Linked DNA regions of Homo sapiens: regions 1, 2, 4 and 5 are each linked to region 3. The links are contacts of gene promoters, found by promoter capture Hi-C in blood cells and fetal thymus (Javierre and others, 2016). All regions are on one chromosome and are shown on one strand. The core of a region is centred on a gene start or on the middle of the fragment in contact, and the rest is flanking DNA. Distances in the headings are between cores, read along the strand shown.

The links. Contacts are between HindIII fragments. The CHiCAGO score rates a contact against its expected background, and 5 or more counts as called.
Region 1: a fragment that was not itself captured here is called in contact with the fragment with the promoter of ICE2 in region 3 in 2 of 17 cell types (non-activated CD4 T cells and naive CD4 T cells); the score reaches 6.5 in non-activated CD4 T cells.
Region 2: a contact is called between a fragment that was not itself captured here and the fragment with the promoter of ICE2 in region 3, in 1 of 17 cell types (activated CD4 T cells). The highest score is 5.4, in activated CD4 T cells.
Region 4: a fragment that was not itself captured here is called in contact with the fragment with the promoter of ICE2 in region 3 in 1 of 17 cell types (activated CD4 T cells); the score reaches 7.3 in activated CD4 T cells.
Region 5: a contact is called between a fragment that was not itself captured here and the fragment with the promoter of ICE2 in region 3, in 2 of 17 cell types (activated CD4 T cells and non-activated CD4 T cells). The highest score is 6.3, in activated CD4 T cells.

The regions. Positions count from the first base shown.
Region 1 is chr15:60,862,579-60,865,278 of GRCh38, forward strand. The region is part of intron 1 of RORA (RAR related orphan receptor A); the gene reads right to left. LOC102724802 (a long non-coding RNA gene) reads left to right here. Exons shown (of 5, transcript XR_001751785.2): 1 at 1-811; 2 at 1,932-2,072. Among named protein-coding and RNA genes, the nearest start is that of RORA-AS4, 100 kb to the left of the region's middle. The HindIII fragment of the contact is 1,929 bases long and covers 353-2,281 here.
Region 2 is chr15:60,939,794-60,942,493 of GRCh38, forward strand. All of the region lies in intron 1 of RORA (RAR related orphan receptor A), which reads right to left. Among named protein-coding and RNA genes, the nearest start is that of RORA-AS4, 180 kb to the left of the region's middle. The HindIII fragment of the contact is 214 bases long and covers 1,320-1,533 here.
Region 3 is chr15:60,477,849-60,480,548 of GRCh38, forward strand. It overlaps ICE2 (interactor of little elongation complex ELL subunit 2), which reads right to left and starts at 1,294. Exons shown (of 16, transcript NM_024611.6): 1 at 1,155-1,294; 2 at 89-221. The coding sequence starts at 129. It overlaps RORA-AS1 (RORA antisense RNA 1), which reads left to right and starts at 1,330. Exons shown (of 6, transcript NR_120342.1): 1 at 1,330-1,550. RefSeq lists enhancers at 126-245, 568-1,095. The HindIII fragment of the contact is 13,398 bases long and covers 1-2,700 here.
Region 4 is chr15:60,919,000-60,921,699 of GRCh38, forward strand. The region is part of intron 1 of RORA (RAR related orphan receptor A); the gene reads right to left. Among named protein-coding and RNA genes, the nearest start is that of RORA-AS4, 160 kb to the left of the region's middle. The HindIII fragment of the contact is 362 bases long and covers 1,162-1,523 here.
Region 5 is chr15:60,901,315-60,904,014 of GRCh38, forward strand. The region is part of intron 1 of RORA (RAR related orphan receptor A); the gene reads right to left. Among named protein-coding and RNA genes, the nearest start is that of RORA-AS4, 140 kb to the left of the region's middle. The HindIII fragment of the contact is 702 bases long and covers 1,001-1,702 here.

The DNA of each region.
Region 1 (2,700 bases), core at 67-2,566, 380 kb after region 3:
AAAGGATCACACTCCCAGAAGCTAAAGGAAAGAAATGGAGAGTGGGAGGTGTATTTTGGGTAAAAAAGAAAAAGAAGCGCTTGTATGAATTTTCATGTTATTTCAGTGAAGTCATAATAGAACAGCTTCCCTTCCCAGAGCTTGCCCAGAACAGCTATTTAAAGGGGGAGTGAGAACTGTACAAGCTTTGACTAGATTCTGAGGTCGGAGCCTTAATTAGAGTCACAATTGTATTGTACATCTATTTGTGTAACTGTTCAATTAGGAGTGTAATAGCTGGGACAGAGATCTTAATGAGCTTTTAGTGTCATGATGCTTCAAGACTGCCCTTTTTTGGTTGTTGTTATTATTAAGCTTTCATATAGGGGCTTTTCCTCTCTGCTGTCCAACTGTGTGGTTCTCCCTTCAGGCAGGTTGAAATGCAAGACTGAGTCTTGCTATATCTAAACTTGGGCATTAAAAATGGGCTGTCTTCCCCTTATCATCTTCATGATTAGCTTGTAAACAGTTTCTTGGGTCTATCCTGTTATCAACAAAAACTCTAGGAATACTGGAATATTAGGGCCAATCTTTTACAGTTGAGATAATTGAGATTCAGAAAGATGAAGTGAACTACTGGACACAGCACAGATAGTGACAGAGCCTGGGCTTGCACATTAGTGTTCTGACCTTTCAGGAACAAAACAATCACAATGCCTGTACATGTCATAATAAGGTCATTCTAACACTACAATGTACACCAGTACCCAAACTGGATCATTCATTTAAAAAAAATTCATTCCCGAAGACATAGTTTTTGTGGTCTTAATAGGTATTTTACTTAATTTTCCTCTGCCTTTCACTACTTAGACTTGGGTACAATTAAAGATGATATTTATATTTTGTGTTATATAGAATGAACAGCACTCAAACACATTCTTATTTAAGCAAATCTGGCCTACGAAAAGCTGTATTCATGAACCCTCACCAAATAAATGGTGAGGATGGTTTTTTGTTTTGGCTTTAGAAAATGATTCTCTGCCTTAATTCCCTCACATGTAAAATAGGCATAATACTGCCATCTACCTTACAGGATTGTTGGGAAGATTAAATGAAGTAATGCAGTTAAACTGTTTAGTAGACTGTTTCGCAGAGCTTCAAACTCAGTCAATACTAGCTGCTTTTGTTCTTATTCTTTTCATTATCACAAAAGGGTGGCCAGAAGATTATGCATGCCAACTGTCAGAATCTTTTTTTTTTTTTTTTTGAGACAGAGTCTCGCTCTGTCGCCCAGGCTGGAGTGCAGTGGCACCATCTCAGCTCACTGCAACCTCCGCCTCCCAGGTTCAAGCAATTCTTCTTCCTCAGCCTCCCAAGAAGCTGAGACTACAGGTGCGTGCCACTGTGCCCAGCTAGTTTTTGTATTTTTAGTAGAGAGGGAATTTCACCATATTGGCCAGGCTGGTCTTGAACTCCTGACCTCGTGATCCGCCTGCCACAGTCTCCCAAAGTGCTGGGATTATAGGCGTAAGCCACTGTGCCCAGCCCTCAGAATCATTTTTTATATTTTGTAGGAGGAGGCGGACAACTGGGGTGGCATGGTGGGGGTGGTTTAAGTGTTAATATTTTGAGATGATTAAAAAGGAAGAGAAAATGAATGTCAGAGCTTGTGAAAATGACTGTTGAGACAAAACAATTACTCTGTTATAAATTAATAATGCAATTAACTTATGATATGTTATTGAGTGCTTGAAGAATGGATAGCCCTCAAATATTCTTTTTAAAACCCATTTATTGCCCAAGATAAACTTAAGGGTAGTGTCACATTTTGAAAAATGTTATTTTATTGGCCATAATTTTTCACAGTTTCGATGGGGACTTAGTGACAGCCCAACACAGCAAACGTCCTTTCATGTTACCATCCTTGTTTTTTTTTTTTCTTTCTTCTAAAGCTAAATTGTCCTGGGACACTCCAAATGTGATTTATTTGTCCCAAGGCCAGTAGAAGTTTCCATGTAGGTGAAAATGGATGTTTGGCTAGTTGAAGAGAAACGGAAATGAGTTCTGCAAGCTGACTTACCCAGTGGAAATGGGTAAGTAACTCAGGAACATTATATCACTGTACATTCTGACTATAAGGAATTCTGGATAATTCATGTCCCTTATAGATACATATGAACTTACACATGATCTATCAGGAAGGAAGAAGACAGGAGCCCCATGAAGAGGGTGGGCATCTCAGTGCCAGGCCTTTGTGCTATGTGCTTTATTTACTCACTTAGTAATTGCAACGGTCTAGTGAAGCTTTAGGTTCCAAAGTCACAGAGCACCAAGTAACACTACCACTGGGATTTGTTCCACATTTGGTATTGCTAGTATTGTGGAGACTTTGTTTTACCTTGCCTCTTCCTTTGGGGAACAGTAGTAGGCATCCACTTTTACAAGAAAGTTGATGCTGTGAAGAGGAAATAAGAGGCCAGATAAATTCAAGGTAAAATTAATGAAGATATGTTTAGATCCTGGTTCTCCCATTGCCTGGTCCAACGTTCTTTCCACCACATTCCAGTCCTTAGGGATGAGGTAGAAAGAGAAAGATGTTTGATAGACCTGATAAACCCTGAACAGGGCTCCCTGTCAGAGAACTTGGGTTCCAGTCTAGTCTGTGAATTTCACTGCCTGAAACCTGGCTCTTTACTTCCTCACACCTGTTTCCTCATCTAT
Region 2 (2,700 bases), core at 177-2,676, 460 kb after region 3:
ACAGTGCCGTTCACTGGACTTCCCTCTTTTCCCTCCTCTTGCACTTAGAATGGCTGAAAAGCAGTGTGTGTGCACATTTCTACAAGGCAAGATAAAAAACCACTCCAGTGTATTTACTATAAATATTGGATACTGCATTTTGTTGCACTCTGTCATGTGCCCGAAGGCCTATCCTGGTGGTAAATTACATTACAGAACACTAAATAGGCCATCATGTCAGCTTTGAGCCTTGGCATTGCTACTTCAAGATGAGTAGAAGATCACTTCCAAAGTCACACATGGGAGGATCAGGGGCCAACACCTCCAACCCTATCAGCATTTTTTGAAAATGTTTCACTCTAATAGTGATGGTGAACATTCTAAGATCCTAAAAATTAGAGGCTGGGTCACAAGATTAGATCACTGAAAGAAATTAAAGATAAAATTGTTGGCTAAGATGATTTCTAATAGCCCCAAACCAGAAACAACCCCAAAGGCCATCAATTGGTAAGGAATAAACAAACTGTACGTCCATACGATGGAATACTATTCCAGTAATAAAAAGAAATTATAATACAACAACATGGATGAATCTCAAAAACATCCGCTAGGTGAAAGATGTTGAACAAAAAAGAATATGTATTATATTATTGTATTTAGATAAAACTCTAGAAAAGGCAAAATACAGAGACAGAAAGCTGATCTGTGGAAGCCAGAGGCCAGGTTGCAGGGGGACGGGATTGAGAGCCAAGAGGCCCGAGGGAACATTTTAGGTGAGGGAACTGTTCTATGTATTGTTTCAGATGGTGGTTATGGTTGTAAACAATAACCAAAATTCATCTAACTGTATGCTTATAACTGGATTACATTGTATGTAAATAATATTGTAGTCAGCCTGTAATCCCAGCAGTTTGGGAGTCCGAGGCAGGTGGATCACGAGGTCAGAAGATTGAGACCATCCTGGCCAACATGGTGAAACCCTGTCTCTACTAAAATACAAAAAAATTAGCCGGGCATGGTGGCGCGTGCCTGTAGTCCCAGCTACTCGGGAGGCTGAGGCAGGGGAATTGTTTGAACTCGGGAGGCAAAGCTTGCAGTGAGCCAAGATCGCACCACCGCACTCCAGCCTGGCAGCAGAGTGAGACTCTGTCTCTAAATAAATAAATAAATAATCATAATATTTTAGTCAGTGGAAGAAAAGGAAAACAAATGTTGACCAAGGCAAATGGCCATGATTTTTCTCCTATGTGATAGCAGACCTGCAAGAAAGAAGTGGTATTGTATAGAAAAACAAGTTATACTCATTAGACAAAATCAAATGAGCCAACTTTGTGAACCTAAGCTTGGAGACACCAAACACTTCATAATTTTTATGGCATGGTGATAAGCTATTACATATACCAACCCTGGGATGGAAAAGCCTTGTCAGTTGCAGTTCAACCTCTGGTTAATTCAAGCTGGGTCTAAAAGGCACTAAATTGAGTGTGGTTTCACTTCCTTGGACTTCAGGTTCCTTGTCCTTGAAGTGGAAGGGTTGGATGAAATGGTTGTTAAAGCTTCAAAATGATACAACTGTGCCAGTCTTTGCTCAACTCCAAGCTCTTTAATGTGTTGGCGTCTCGCGATTCCATTTAGCTATTAGGACCCCAGGGCCAAATCTGGCTTGTCCCAATGTCATTGTTCTACAGAACCGGGTGAAGGGGCCTAAGATACTTGGAGGAAAGTCTACCAGTGCCATGGTCAACAGTGGGCCCTCCCAATGAGACAGCCTCGGGCTGAGTTCCCTGTCTGGACACAGCAGCCAGTTTCTATGATGCTTTCACCCAGAGGTGTTCTTGGAAGATCTCCAGTGTACTTTATTTTTAGTTCCTTGGTGAGTGCTCACTTTGTATTCTAAGAAAACTTTTAGATCTCAAGACAAGGAATTTTTGATCTCACTTTTTTACGCAATTATGAGTCATTCCACATGTTAGCATTAGCAACCCAAGACCTCCCTCTCCTCACTGATCTATCTTTTTCATCTCTTCAAAGATCCTGGAGGTAAGGAAGGGTTTTAAATGTTTGCCCTTGAAAAGAAAAGACGTGCAAACCGGAAACTGGTGACTAGCACTGCTGTTGTTACCAAGAAATAGTTTTTAAAAGCAGACATTTTAGGAAGATAATTGTTGATCTTTGCATTACCCACCAGTCCAGTGAGCAGGCAAATCTCCTATGCATAAAATCTGCTAAGTCTTCAAGCAAACTCACCTTTCCTAAAGGATTGAATTAAAACTTAATCCATAATATCTTCGGAAGATTCCCCCTAATTTTTTAAAAACATGGAATTTTTTTTTTCATGTGATAGATCTGGTTGAAAACCAAAATATCAGCAAAAGCCACAGCTCATCATAAACGTAACTATCTATGGAGCCCTTACATAATGGTCAGCTACTGTGCACACAGTAGATCTTTCAGACCTTACAACTAGATGTGGAAACTGAGTCTTAGTGAGTTTATGTCTCAAGGCCAAGGCTGCCTCGCCTGTAAACAGCAGAGCTGGGATATACACCCTTATCAGACCAAATCCCAAATCAGTGCTCTTCCCCCTAGTGCTTATTGTCAAATTCTGGTTTGTCAAATTGTCAAACCAGAACCAGGTTTCCGTTTTACGTTTCTATTCATAAGGCGAATTATGTGTGTTAAGCAAGATGTTCGGCAATTATTTGCCCATGGATGAAAAGG
Region 3 (2,700 bases), core at 44-2,543:
CTCTCTATGCCAGAAATCTATTTTCTTATGTCAACCATCAGCCCCACTACACTCCTCTTCAGTGGATTACAAAGTGGCTACAACTCACCAATTCAGTCCTGGTTCACTTATGACCATCTTGGAGCTCATCTTCCTAGATTTCTGCTTCACTCTAGCTCACAGTTCACAGCTGCCTGGCTGCGAAGGCTCCAAGAGGCAGGATCCCTCCAGAACTTACTCAGCTGAGTAAAAACAAAAGGCCAAGATCAAAAGCAAGTGATTGGCTAGGCCAGGTGCTATTAGGTGAGGAAGAATCTCTCCCTAAACATCTACCCTCAACAGACTGTGGCACCTAAAACAGAATACAGCAGACCCAAGGTTCTTTGTAGCAGAGCAGCAATGACGATACAGGACGAGCCCTTTTCCATTTAATCTACGCCGGGAGTGTTACTCTCAGGACACTCACTATGGAAATAAGAGCTGAAACAGAACGGTGTTCTCATTGCTTACATACTAGGCCACTTGATGGCATGGAACGGGAAGTCAACTCAGTTTTCCATTCCCTTACTGCCAAAATAAATCTTTTGTTTTCCCGACCATGCTTTGTTATGGGGCAGATTCTGGCAGGCACTTTATGACAAAAGCTACCTCGATATCAGGAATCTTAGGCCTTTCACAAAGAACCTCACATTTGAGAAGACTTGAGGTCAACTTAAGTGACATTTCACAAGATCACTTACAGACATCATCAGGACTACAAATCAGGCTTGATCTCTCATGTTCAGTACTTCTCCTGTGACCCCAGGCAGACTGATAAAGTGACCTGCGAGAACCTAATCAAATTTAGGAGTCGGTCTCTCGACACCGAACGGGCCCGACCGGCTCCCACTTAATCTACCTCTCACACTTCGACCCAGTGTGGAGCTGGGGGGGAATAGTCGAGGAAGGCAAAAGAAACGGCTGAGGGAAAGGGGACGCAAAGAGAGGGGAAACAAGGTTCCAGAAAAGCAGGTAAAAGGGCAAGCAAAGCAGGGGTAGGAGCCGCGCAGAGCCAGGAGCAAAGGGTCCTGGCCCGGCCGCCATGTTCCCTCCTCCCGCCCCTGCATGAGCACGCCCGCTGGCCCGGCAGCGCCCTCCCGTCCGCGTCTGGGCTGCAACACAGCCTTTCCGCCCACCTCATGGTCCGCGGCGGCTCTTGCCCAGGCCGCAGCCACACACCACACACGCTCCACCCCACTCCTCACATTGTCGCGCGCGCCCAAAAAAGACCATATTTAAAGGATGTGGCCGCGCCGACTCGGCCCTGCGTGATGACGTCTCAGCGACATAGTGGGCGGGGCCTTGCGTCTTGACGGCTGCTCCCCTCCTTTCCTCCCGCCACAAGCGCTCGCTGTGGTTCTGGCAGCGAAGTGCGAGACTGGGCTCGCCAGGCGGAAGTGGTTGGAGACTGCGTGTTTTCCTAGAAAGTCCTCGACCTTCGTCGGGGAGAGGAGGGGAGTGATAAATTGGAAGGCGGACAAGCGACAAGTGCGGTACTGGAAAGACCCAAACATACTTGGTTGTGACCTCAGGCAAGTTTCCTGACTTCCGTAACCCAAACTCCTCATATGTAAAATGGAGATGAAATTGTTACTGCTGCATCATACGGTTTTTTGGAAAGGATTAAATGAAACAAAGGAAGAAGCTGTGCTCTGCACAGTACCTGGCACATAGTAGGGCCTCATTAAGTGCTCCTTCACCTCCGCTCCACTCCCCATCCAGTTTTAGCTGTGAGTTCAAACACTAGTTTTGTTCTCATCCATTACGGAAAGATTTATTGACCGTAAACAGAGTACTTTGTGCTTGGTGCTGGGTACACATGGACTAAGACTGAATACTGATTTTTCCAGTGCTTTGGATCTCTGGCAATCTAAGACATTTACATTAAATACAATAGAAAGTAATAAACTACATAAGAAAGGTGTATAGATTGAGGTTAGAGGGAGAGGAATAGCTAGTGTGAGGGACAAAACGCAGTTTTGAATAGTATTGAGTACTTACATGTCAGTTGCTGCACTGAGCACCTGCCGTGTGAGCTCATTTGAAGAATGTGGGTATGTGGAATGAAGAGAAAGGGCGTTCTAGACAGACCAGCACAAGTGTCAAAAGACAAAAATTTGACACATCTAAAGATCTCAGTTGGCCTTATTGCGATTCTGGAATCAGGCAACACTTCATTCCATAAAATGGAATGAGTGTCCCAATGAGTGGAACAGAGGAGGTTGGCATTACGGACAGAAAAAAGGTCTGTAGAAAGTAGAAACAAAGAACAAAAAGCAGATTGATCATTTCAAAGTTACTTTCCTGGTAAGGTGGAGACAGACAGTACAATAGAAAGATAACTGATTGGTTAACATCAGGTTACTTCAAGTTACTCTTTGCTGTAGGGACTAAAACAGAGGAAATTCATTATCTTGCTGATTGAAAATTGAAACTGGCCTGTTACCTCTGTCTCCTGATTTCTTGGAGGGCCACATAACTCAGTTTCGGTGTGGTGAGCCTGAGTGATACCATTTTTATTTTAGTCTGGTCTCTTGGGGTCTAGTGCAGAAGTTCTAAACAATGGCCTCCTATAATTTTTTTTAATACAAGGAACTGCATAAACTTATTGCATAAACAGAATCTAGTGTGTGCTATTAGGGAAGCATGTTCTACATTTTATTTTAAGACAGAGTCTCCCAG
Region 4 (2,700 bases), core at 93-2,592, 440 kb after region 3:
AAGCAGAGGAGGTGGTAGGTTCCATCTACTTATGATGCTACGAAAAGACATGCGGCTTATATAATATGCACTAGGCATGAACCACCCTGCCCCCAAATACAAAACTGGTCTCCAGACTGTATTTCTTGGCAACAGTGGCCTCCTTGGCTTTTCCTCCACATCCCCTTGAGTTGACTATCCTCTGAGGTTGCTCTTGCTATTGATTCTCACTGGATATCACTGGGCATGGGGAGGAGAAACCCACACAACGGGGTGCCTGGCATATGAAGAATAAGAGAAACTTTAGCTCTTAGAACTGCAGGAGACCCCTCGTTTAATAGAGGAGAAGCCCAGGGCCCAGCAGGGGTGAAGGAAGGTATGGTCCAATGTCACAAAGCAGATAAATGGCAGAGCCAGGCCTGGAGCCCACACAGGCCACCTCCGAGTGATTTTCCATAATGCAATTCCTTCATGAGGGAGGAGTTGTTGATGCCTCAAAATTGAGACTAGGCTACTATAGATAATACCTATATAGGGAGTGCCTCTGCATCCATTATAGAGGCTACTCTGGGATATTTAAATACATATTTTTTACCTGATTACGGCACCTATACAAAGACTCCTGTATCACATTCCTTTCACTGGTCAAGAGCAGGCAGACATTTGCACCTCCTGACCTGCAATGCCCCCCTACTAATAGATAATGAGAAATCTGAAGTCCACACTGATTCCCTTTTCCTCTAGCTGCTAGGAAGCTGAAAAATCCATCTTTTCCTTAGGTAGGAGTTTTCATTACGGTTTTCTTTTCCTCTCTTTTGCCTGATATCTGCTTTTGTTTTATATATTGTTTTGATCTTTTTGTACCTATGTTTTTAGTATAAAATTTCTGGATGCAGGTAGGGCTGTCAACTAATCAATAACAAATAAACAAATAATAATCTTCATGCTTGGTGTTCAACCATGCAGGAAATAAAATCTTATAGAACGTACAGAAGAGCCAGGAAGGATCACACACTCCACTGTGCTAACTGCATACGAAGGAGAAGGGGAAGAAGGCTCAGTTTTAGTGGAAAGGAATAGGAAAGAGAAGAGGCCTCTTCCTTTATCAGCTCCCTCACAGCTTCAGCAGCACTATCTCACCCCACTAACCAAACATCCAAAGGACTTGGAGGCAGAAAAGAAAGCTTCCGGAGACCTTGGAATTATGTATGCATCTATCTATGTATCTATCTATATATCTAAGTATCTATGTTTCTATCTACGAATCAGCCATTTTATCTTCCACCTCTATCATCTAAGTTAACCTTTCTCTAATATTTCTCTAAGGCTAATCTCATCATCTTTGTCTTAAAGAAGCAGACTCAGAATTAAGTAATGTTTTCAACGTCAAAGAATAAGTAGATCTGGGATTTGAACCTATGCCCATTTGTATGTGAAGCCCACATTTTTTCCTATCATATCACCCACATCCTCAGACCATGGCTGTCACCTGGAACTGTCAGTAGGCCACCCATTTTAGGTCTCTCTTAGGCCTAAAGTCACCAAGCTTTACCAGTACCCAAACTGGGTGCTAGGAACAACAGGCTGGGCACTAAGATATGACAGATGTGGATTACCACATACCCCAGGGAGAAGCCTACATACCATGGGTTCATAGTTAACAGCGAGCTATTACAATAGATATTGTTCATCCTCAAAGATGAAACTGTGATGAGACCATTGCTATAATATTGACAAATCTTCAGGTACACCAAATGTGAAGATGAATTTTATTGAAATCTTCATAACATTTTTCCATTTGCTGATAGTTTAAACAATTATGTTCATGTTTCTCTCTGTGAGATGACTTTTGGTGTCCTGAAATGACATGCTATTGTGTAAAACTACAGATGCAGGACACCTCAGTGGAGTTCTTTTCTTGCATTAAACTCACTTCAAGGAAGATTTATGAAGCCTTGAAGGTCTGGATTGGGCCTTGGGGCTCATGATCAACCCAGGACCAGAATATCAAGGCCTAAATTGCAGTCTTGGTTCTACCTCATAGCCTCCTAAGACCCTGTGTTATTCTCCAGTCTTATAGAACTAATCACATAAAGTGGTTAATTTCTTAACCTATTTGTAGAGACAAATGGGTGATAGAAAGAAAACTGGAGCTCCTGGTTCACATATGCCTACCCCATGCCCCTGCAATTCCACTGCCAGGATATATCCAACAGAAATCCATACTTATATCCACCTGAGGACATGTATAAGAATATTCACAGAGCCACTATTCATAAAAACCCCAAAATGGAAATACCACTAATTCCATCCCTAACAGAATGGATCAATCATGGCACATTTCTACCGTGGAACACTACATAGCAATGAAAAGGAAAGACCCATTGCAGGCATCAACATGGACAAATTCTATGCACAGAATGTTAGGCAGAAGAAGCCGTCCATAAAAGAGTACATAGCACATGATTCAATTTAAATGAGGTTCAAAATATATGCAAAAGTCATCTAAGGTGCTAGAAGTCAAGACAGTGGTTACCTCTGAGGAAGGGTAGTGACTGGCAAGGTCATGAGGTGGTTTTGGAGATGCTGATCCTATTCCATTTCTTTATGTGGGTATAGGCGATGTGTTCACCTACAAATTCATTGAGCTGCACAAATATGATCTGTGCACATTTCTTTGTATGTGTTATGCTCCAATACAATTAAAGAAAAAACAGGGTT
Region 5 (2,700 bases), core at 102-2,601, 420 kb after region 3:
ACACCAGCCACCACACCCAGCTAATTTTTGTACTTTTAGTAGAGATGGGGTTTCGCCATGCTGGCCAGGCCAGTCTCGAACTCCTGACCTCAGGTGATCTGCCCACCTCGGCCTCCCAAAGTGTTGGGATTACAGGTGTGAGCCACCACGCCCGGCGATTCATGATGTTCCTAATGGTTCTGTCCATTTTTACAGCCCATCTCAGCTGAAAGAAATATCTAACAGTTCTGTTTATTTGTAAATTACACCCAAATAACTTAACAAGTATTTATGTCCTAACAACTTGATTTCTGAAAAAAAGAATACACATAAACTAAAAGAAAAATGAGTCCCATTCACTGTTAAATAATCGTAAGTGCTTAATAGTGAGATGCATGAGCCTGTTGGGCACTACGCAACTTCTCAAACTCTGGCATCAGGTTGGATGCCCTCACCCTTGTTTCCTGCTCCACACTGATTTTCACATGGTCCTGTTTTATAATACAGCAACTGACAAGAACTTAGCTTCTCAAAGGTATGACATCACTGAAAGAAAGTTATGCATTCCAGTAGTGAAACTGTGAACTACCTTGAGCTAGTAGTTCACACGGTGCCTGACAGATGTCAAGAATTGCTGTATTTTCCTCAACTATTTAAAATATTTCCTGGCACCCCTTTGAGGCCACTGCAATGTCCAGGGTGCCTCAGCTCACACCTTGGGAACCCGGAGGCTAATTAACCATAGTGAATCAGATTCATTTTCTATGCTACTACTGAAATATGAATTAGACAATATTATAGATAAAGCTGAATAATATGACTTGTTTTAATACAGTTCTAACTCGATTTTCTACTTCAATTCCATTCTTCAGCCATTGATATTTGGCTTTTTAAAAGCTGTCCTTGTAGTGTCATATGGTCACCAGATAAACTCTGCAGTGAAGGCTCTTTAGATTCAAATCTATGTTGAACTATTTCAATTTTATGATTTTTTTTTTTTAAAAAACAGAGAGTAACCCAAAGCTTACCAGGTGATCCTTCTTAGTAAAAGGGATTTGTGGGCTGTGGATCAGCTTCCCACTGATTCATCTGAGATGAAGACAGGACCCTCCATCCTGCAAAAATGGGTTTGAAAAAAGAAAGGAACTCTCCATTTACACGTGAGAATGGCTCAGCCCTAAGAATGCTGCTTGCAGGTTCACTGTTCTGCATTTAGAATCCAGGCCTAGAGAAGCAGCACGGCTTGCCTCTGCTGTGAATCAGACTCTATCTTGTGTTGTTTTAGAGTCATGTCTACATAGCTGAAAGATGATTTGGATCTTTTTCAAGAAGAGAGTGGTAAGGTGAGGTACAGTGAGGCAGAAGACAATGCTGGTCAATGCTTTAAAATCACTCTCTGAGAGGAAAACCCTTGGTTTCTACTCTCTGCTGATTTCTGTGTTAAAAATACTCCCACCGTGGTTGAACGAGGTCACTGAATTCAGAGTTAGGGAAAGAGGCACACAATCAGCTCTCACGAGCTGACTCTAGCCCTTCACTGGGCAGAACGCTTTTCTCCTCTTCTACAGCTGCCCACGGAATGCTCTGAATCTAGGGGCGTACTCCGCTGAAAGGAAGATTTATAAATGCTCACGTTTATTAGCTCCTAATTGAGGATATCTGCCAGACACAATAAATAAAGTTGAAAAACAGAGTGCTTTGGAGAGAAAGTAGGCTAATCCGAAGCTTTTTATTCAGGGGATGAATTCTGGTCTTCCTCTCTGTATATGGGACACTATCTTGACCTTTCTGGCTGAGTCTATTAGCTCAGAGGTGGCACTCCAGTGGTCAAGTCAACTGGCATTCATCAAGCACCAACCACAGGCTTGAAATTTATATTAGTTGTTTTGGAAGGTTCCAGGAGAAGACAATGTAGACTCCTGAGGAGGGGATGATGTAGGTGAGGAGAGAGGCTAATGGCACATGAAGCCTGCAAAACTGGGCTCTAGACTCTTCTCATTGCAGCTTCAGAGTAAATCAAGTAACACTGTCTGTCTTCCCAGAGGTACCCTTGGCAGAGACCAGCAGGATCTGTTGTTTCTACTGTTGGACGCGTTTATGGGCCCTATTGGCCGATTTGGCAAGCAGCTTTATATAAAATGTCTTCCGGAACCATCCTTTCCCCTGTGAGTCAGTCATCCTCAGAGTCCTAATTCTGTCCAGTTTGCATCAGGCCTCCTCAGTCTCTGTAGCCCAAAGCACACGATAGGGTACCAATGTTCAAGGCTCTGCTTTATTTTGAAATTCAGCTGGTGAAGCTATTATATTCTACCTTTCTCCAAGTAGTATGCAATGCAAAGTGGCAATTTTACACCGTGCTAGCCCAACATAAATTCACAGATGAGTGCACACCTTATTTGGAATAAAGAGAAACACAACAGTTATTAAAGGGGTGATTACCTTCCCAGGGACCATGAATTTAAAATTATGCAAAATCGGAGGTCGGTCTCTACAAGTTCACATAGTGATTTAAATGGGGGTAACAATGAATATAATATCTTCTAACATGTTAAAACTTCCACAGCAAACCTCTTATATAATGCTTTGTTGCTTCATTGATTTGATAAGTTTGTGGGGGTACATTTTGCATTCATATACGACGTATAAAGTATCTTGTTTGCTTTACAAAAATGAAACATCAATAATAACAATCCTCAGGTTGCTATGATTTCTCTGTCATTC